Regions from separate parts of the Homo sapiens genome. Here region 2 is linked to region 1. Evidence: promoter capture Hi-C in human tissues and cell types (Jung and others, 2019). All regions are on one chromosome and are shown on one strand. The core of a region is centred on a gene start or on the middle of the fragment in contact, and the rest is flanking DNA. Distances in the headings are between cores, read along the strand shown.

The links. The method cuts DNA at HindIII sites, captures the fragments that hold promoters and counts their contacts. A contact is called where the count stands out against the background at its distance.
Region 2: a fragment that was not itself captured here is called in contact with the fragment with the promoter of LSM5 in region 1 in 1 of the 25 tissues and cell types used here (spleen).

The regions. Positions count from the first base shown.
Region 1 is chr7:32,488,896-32,492,614 of GRCh38, forward strand. LSM5 (LSM5 homolog, U6 small nuclear RNA and mRNA degradation associated) reads right to left here and starts at 1,485. Exons shown (of 5, transcript NM_012322.3): 1 at 1,425-1,485; 2 at 354-449. The coding sequence starts at 1,470. RefSeq lists an enhancer at 1,388-1,437. The HindIII fragment of the contact is 28,883 bases long and covers 1-3,719 here.
Region 2 is chr7:33,139,224-33,142,490 of GRCh38, forward strand. The region is part of intron 1 of BBS9 (Bardet-Biedl syndrome 9); the gene reads left to right. Among named protein-coding and RNA genes, the nearest start is that of BBS9, 11 kb to the left of the region's middle. The HindIII fragment of the contact is 3,484 bases long and covers 28-3,267 here.

The DNA.
Region 1 (3,719 bases), core at 235-2,734:
TGTAATTTTTGTGGAGACAGGGTTTCATCATCTTGCCCAGGCTGGTCTCAAACTCCTGGGCTCAAGCGATCCACCCACCTCGCCCTCCCAAAGCGCTGGGATTATAGGCGTGAGCCACTGGGCTCGCCTGTTCAGTTTTAATTACAATGTTTAATACAATGGCTCAAATTCAAAATGCTTGTTGTTGATAGGAACTTTACCGTCTTTCAATACATACCTCTTAAAACATTATCATAAGTTCCCTGAGAATGAACTGATTTTTATTATAATAATCACAAATATACTGATTGTCTATAGTTCTTATGTTATTACTTAAGAAAAACCTATACCACCACCACCTTTTAAAAGGATACTGACAAAGTCATCAAATCCTAGAAGAGTACCAACAATTTCCTTATCACTCTTCATCACGATGTGAATTCTTGATCCTATACATTTGTCCACAAGCTCTGAGGAGGGAAAAAATATTATTTTACCATTCATTATTTCAACAAATATTTGAGTGCCTACTGGCACTCTTACTTGCATATAGTGAAAGAAAAACCAGGAAAAACATTCATTCAATAACTTTAGGTCTTATAATACAAATCTCAGTTCAAGCACAGCATCTGGCACATAATGAGCCTTCCAAAAGAGTCTGTGGCATGAAGGAATGAAAACTTTTCAATCACGGCCACGACCACTAGTTCAATCACTCTTCACCAACTACAAAAATATAAGAGGAGATAGGTATAATTATATTCACCGGAAACTCTCCGGTCACTGCTTCCCTTTCCCAACTCTGTCTATCCTCTGTGCTCTGACGGTAGCTTGAACATCTCTTTAGCTAGCCTAGCATTATGTGGCATGATGTCTACTTGTCCAGTGTTCTCTCCTCCACTGGCTTGTGTGCTATTTGAAGGCAATGGCTATGGTTTATCATTGAAAAATGCCCAGGCACGGTATCTAGTGTATAGATACTCAGTTACTACTTATTGAATGAATAAATAACAAACAGAGCTGGTTTCCAGATTCCTCATTTAAGGCTCATTCCGGACCAGGGTGTTAGTGTCACTAACCAACCACATACATAACATGGTCTATCTAATCTGGGGATCGTAAACGCCAGGCTGAGAAGTAGGCCTACTACCTATAACACTGCAGAGGCGGGCTCACAACAAAGTAGGCCGACGACGCGTTCACTAAATGTGGACCTTTTCCAGTGAAGGTCTGGTTTGAGAAGTCAAAGTCCTTGCCTGGAGGAGCCCGACCACGTTAAAGAGCAGGTGCGGCCTGCTGTCGCGAAGACTTGGAGCTCAGAGTCGAACCGCATTTGGTCTTATACATTTCCCCACACTCGGCCAGGGCCTGCCTCGGAACAGCCCCTCGGCCCCCAATCCTGAATGTCAGCTCCCTGTTCCTGCTCCCCAAAGGACGGCGATTACCTAAGGGCAGCAGCTGCGACGGGTTGGTAGTAGCGTTAGCCGCCATGGCTACGCCGGAAGTGGCCTGCCTTCATTGATGGTGGGACGACTTTGAAAAGCGCGCTTCCGCTTTTTCCGCAGCCCAAACAGGCTCGACCAATCTGAGGCCGAGCGCACGATCTAGTCAGCTGCGTGGGTCGCGTTCACTGGCTTTTTTCCCCGGCAAGTGAGATCCGGTGAAATATTTCCTGCCCACTGGACATTTTACCATCTCGGCAGATACCCATAATGCCCTTGAAGTTTTGGAGAGACGTTGAAGATATTTTGCCTTGTGAATAAATTGTTCCTGTAACGTTTGAGTCTTCTTCCCCCGTAAAGTTGCATTTCCTCTCAAGCCAGAATCTTCAAACCAGTATAAATCAATTCGTATTTCCTGCCATCAATTAACTGTTACAATTTTCGTTACAACTACTCATTAAGGAATCTATTGTTTCTTTTTAAAGTCCAGTGGATTGAAAATCTGCAACTAGCATTTTTTAAAATTTTTCTTTAGTGAGGATTTAAGATATGTTTTTTAAACTTTTTACTACTTTAATTCATCGTTCTTATCTTTTTATGTCTGGTAGTCTTATTTATTATAGGCTTTTAAATTCAGTTTCTTCAACAATTCTTGTCTCACAGGCAACCACCAGATGTCACTCTAAATTATTCCAGAAGTGTAAAATCATGCTTTCCACTTCTGTGTTGAAAACAGCAAAGTATCGGCCCTAGTCTGTTTTATATTTGTATCCTAGGAACTTAAACCTGAACAGTCTAGGTCAGGCGCAGTGGTAACGACTGTAATCCCAGCACTTTGGAAGGCCGAGGCGGGCGGATCACCTGAGGTCAGGAGTTCGAGACCAGCCTGGCCAACATGGGTGAAACCCCGTCTCTACTAAAAATACAAAAATTAGCTGGGCGTGGTGGCGTGCGCCTGTAGTCCCAGCTACTCGGGAGGCAGAGGCAGGAGAACTGCTTGAACCCGAGAGGCAGCGGTTGCAGTGAGCCTAGATCATGCAACTGCACTCCAGCCTGAACAACAAGAGCGAAACTCCATCTCAAAAAAAAAAAAAAAAAAAGCTAAACAATAAACATGAGCGGCCACAAAGAACGTCATTCATTCATACAACAAATGGTCATTAAGCACCCATCATTCCTTCATAGACTGAGTTCCTCAAGGCTGAGAATTATGGGAAGCAGTAGTTTACGTGATTAAATTTCTTCATTTTGAATTAAATGACTTTGGTTCAAATTCCATGGTCAGTTATTTGACAATGGGCAAGTTATTTTAACTTTTTAAGTCTCAATATACCCATTGGAAAAAATGGGGACAACAGTATCTACTCATAAGATTAATGTGAAGATTAATTGAGATAATCTATGAAAAGTGGTCAGCATAGGACCTGGCACATAGCCCTTTTAAACATGAGCTGTTATTACTTATCCTTGTTTTCTAATACATGATGTCTGGCTCAGAGTGAAGCTACATAAAGCTAGCATTGCTAGCTGGTTTTGCATTCATCTTATTTTTATAACCAGACATAAGCCACTTTAAGGAAGCAATTTCTTATTTTATACACTGTGCACACTACATTTTCAGGCACACTGTAGGGCGCCTAATGAATATTCTTTAAATTGATTCTCACTATTTCATTCACACCCATCAACATTCTCCTTACTCTTCATAAGATTTTAAATACGAAGTAATGCCAGATTTGTTTGTGACGCTTCTTTCTTTCTCTTTCTCTTTTTTTCTTTTTGTCCAATCCTCATTTGGTTGAAAACCACCTCTTTTCCTGGTTTTCCTTTTCTATTCCTATTTTATTTTCCCCATACCATACTGACAGTATGGGAGAATTCAAAACATTGTTGTTATTTGATAGAGTTTTTAAAAATTAGAAAAATAGGCTGGGCACAGTGGCTCACGCCTATAATCCCAACACTTTGGGGGCCGAGGTGGGCGGATCACGAGGTCAAGACATGAAGACCATCCTGGCCAACATGGTGAAACCCCATCTCTACTAAGAATACAAAAATTAGCTAGGTGTGGTGGCACACGCCTGTAGTCCCAGGTACTCAGGAGGCTGAGGCAGGAGAATCGCTTGAACCTGGGAGGCAGAGGTTGCAGTGAGCCAATCGTGCCACTGCACTCCAGCCTGGCGACGGAGTGAGACTCCATCTCAAAACAACAACAACAAAAAAAAAACAGAATAAACATTAGCAATTTTGAATGCCACTAATAAAGAATAAAGAAAATCTCTTTAGAATCTGAAAAAA
Region 2 (3,267 bases), core at 520-3,019, 650 kb after region 1:
CCTGGGCAACAAGAGTGAAACTCTGTCTCAAAAACAAAAACAAAAAACAAAACAAAACAAAAAAACAAGTTAATGAGAAATGAATGTCTTCTATAGGCATTCCTATTTGTAGACATTGTTGGAAAGTTCTTTCATATTGGAGGATTCTTTTGATTCTTTTTTTGTCTTTTTTATTTTAACAGCCCACTAGATCATAATATTGGAGGATTTTTTGTATTCATTCTAGCAAGCTGAAAAAATTTATTGACTCACAGGTTTTTAAGGCCATTTTCATAGGATAGCTACTTTGACTTGATGCAGTATTTATATTCAAACTCCAGCTTTGTCTCTTGTGGTCACTTATCTGAGGATTTTGACTTTTTAAAAATGTATCATTCATTATCATTGACAGAAAAATCTCTTCTCTTTCTCCTTTACTTGGTTTAGTATGTTCTCTAGGCAGGCCCCATGAAGTTTTCTTTTCTGTCTGTGTTAGGCAAAGGTAAGACCCCCTTTGAGTGTTGTATAGTTCTTACTTTCTTATTTTCTCTCCTTGAGACTTTTGAACCGGCTGATGCAGGAGTGAGCAGAGGATCACTTACTCTTTGGTTGGTTACTACTAATTTCTGTCCTTAGCTATGTCTCCCAATAGAGCTTATGCCTCCAAGTCTTCATCCTTTATGGTGTATCAGGAGCACTTGATACAGTTGGTCACTCCCTTTTTCTAGATACATTTTTTTTTTCCACTTCCTTCGAGATAACTCACTTCTGGCTTTGTTTTGATCTCAGTGAATGCCCCTGTTAAGCTTCTGGTAGATTCCTCTTCTTTTTCTTTTTTTTGGAGATGGAGTCTCACTCTGTCACCCAGGCTGAAGTGCAGTGGCGTGATCTTGGCTCACTGCAAGCTCCACCTCCTGGTTCATGCCGTTCTCCTGCCTCAGCCTCCCGAGTAGCTGGGACTACAGGCACCCGCCACCACACCCGGCTAATTTTTTGTATTTTTAGTAGAGATGGGGTTTCACCGTGTTAGCCAGGATGGTCTCGATCTCCTGACCTCGTGATCTGCCTGCCTCGGCCTCCCAAAGTGCTGGGATTACAGGCATGAGCCACCGCACCCAGCCGGATTCCTCCTCTTCTTAACCTCTGTACCACTCCTTTGTCTTCTAAGCTTGTGTCTGGTTTTCTTCAGATATCCCATCATGCACCTTTTCCCTTTCCTGATTATGCTTTTCATCCTTTTATCGTAGCCATCCTTCATAGCCATGAAGATGACTATGCTGTGTCCTGTGAGTCCTCCTAGGGAATCATTGGCATTTCAAGTGTGAATTTGGGTAATATTTTGCTCTGAGCTGCAAGTGAATGATGTATCCTCATTCTCATAGTCCAGTAATATGGCATATTACAATTCTCCTAGGTACTTGGCATATATAGTGAGAATATATGGGATTTATTGAATACTGTTACTTTCCTCTCAAAAATCCAATAAAAGTGTAATACAGATATTATTATGTTTTTTGAATGCTTGCTACCAGATTTGAAATTTAGTAATCTGACAATTTGTATGGTTATATAATGTCATTAGTAATAACAAATGGTGCAAATATTTTTCAGAAAGTCTCCCACATATTTTGAAACTCATGATAAATTTGTTTACCTGTTAGATATTTGTTCACTTCCATCAACTCCCAGTGTTTATCTAACTTCTTTCTTAGCATAAGCAGAGTACTATGGATGGAATTTTCTTTCTTTTTTCTCCTGGTATTTGTTTTTTTAAACTAATCATTTTGAAATAATTTTAGACTCACTTAGAAGTTGCAAAAATAATGGTTTCCCAATGAAAACAGTACAGTGATCAAAACCATCAAATTTGTTTTTTTCGTAGAGACTGGGTCTCTGTTACATAGGCTGGAGTGCTGTGTCTTGATCAAAGCTCACTGCAGGCTGGCATGGTGGTTCACGCCTATAATTCCACCACTTTGGGAGGCCGAGATGGGTGGATTGCTTGAGGTCAGGAGTTGGAGACCAGCCTGGTCAACATGGGGAAACTCCATCTCTACTAAAATACAAAAATTAGCTGGGCGTGTTGGCAGGTGTCTGTAATCCCAGCTACTTGAGAGGCTGAGGCAGGAGATCGCCTGAACTTGGGAGGTAGAGGTTGCAGTGAGTTGGGATTGTGCCACTATACTCCAGCCTGGGTGACAGAGCAAGACTCCATTCCTCACTCCCCAAAAAAGCTCACTGCAGCCTCGAACTCCTGGGCTCAATTGATCCTCTCACCTCAGACTCCTGACAGTAGTTGGGACTACAGGCATGGACCACTATGCCCATCTAATTTTTTTATTCCTTGTAGAGATGGGGTCTCCCTATGTTGCCCAGGCTAATTATAGATGTTAGCCACCGTGCCCAGCCCACCATTAAATTGATGTTAGTATAATACTAAAGTTAAACTATAGATTTGATTTGGATTTTACCAGGTTTTATGTTAGATGCACTTTTTTTTTGTAGATAGTTCTAAGAAATTAATCCCAAAGAAATTGCCTTTTATTATTAGCTCCTCATAGTTACACCCTCCTGTAAACCTAGCAACCACCTATCTGTTCTACATTAGTATGATTTTGTCATTTTGAGAGTTAGAAATGTAATTATTTAATATTTTAGCTTTTTGGATTTTTTTTTCATTCAGCATAATGCTCTTGCAGTCTATCCAAGTTGCAAGTGTCAGTTATGTTTTAAATTCTTTTTTTTTTTCTCGAGATGGAGTCTCGCTCTTTTGCCCAGGCCGGACTGCAGTGGTGCTATCTCGGCTCACTGCAAGCTCTGCCTCCCGGGTTCATGCCATTCTCCTGCCTCAGCTTCCCGAGTAACTGGGACTACCCGCCCGGCTAATTTTTTGTATTCTTAGTAGAGACGGGGTTTCACCGTGTTAGCCAAGATGGTTTTGATCTCCTGACCTCGTGATCCGCCCGCCTCGGCCTCCCAAAGTGCTGGGATTACAGGTGTGAGCCACCGCGCCTGGCCTAAATTCTCAAGTTATATTGGTATGGTGTAGATGTACCATAGTGTGTTTAACCAGAACACTGAGTTTTTTTCTTTAATGTAAGTTTAAAACATCATAAAAGGGGATCAAAACCAGAGCAATGGCTAACACTTATTGAGTGCTTATTATGTGCCAGGTATTGTACTAAGTGGTCTACTGTATTCCTTTTTGTAAAAAACTAAAACTGTATATTTTTTATTTTTAATTGTGGTAAAATAATGTGACATAAAATTGAACATCTAACCATTTTT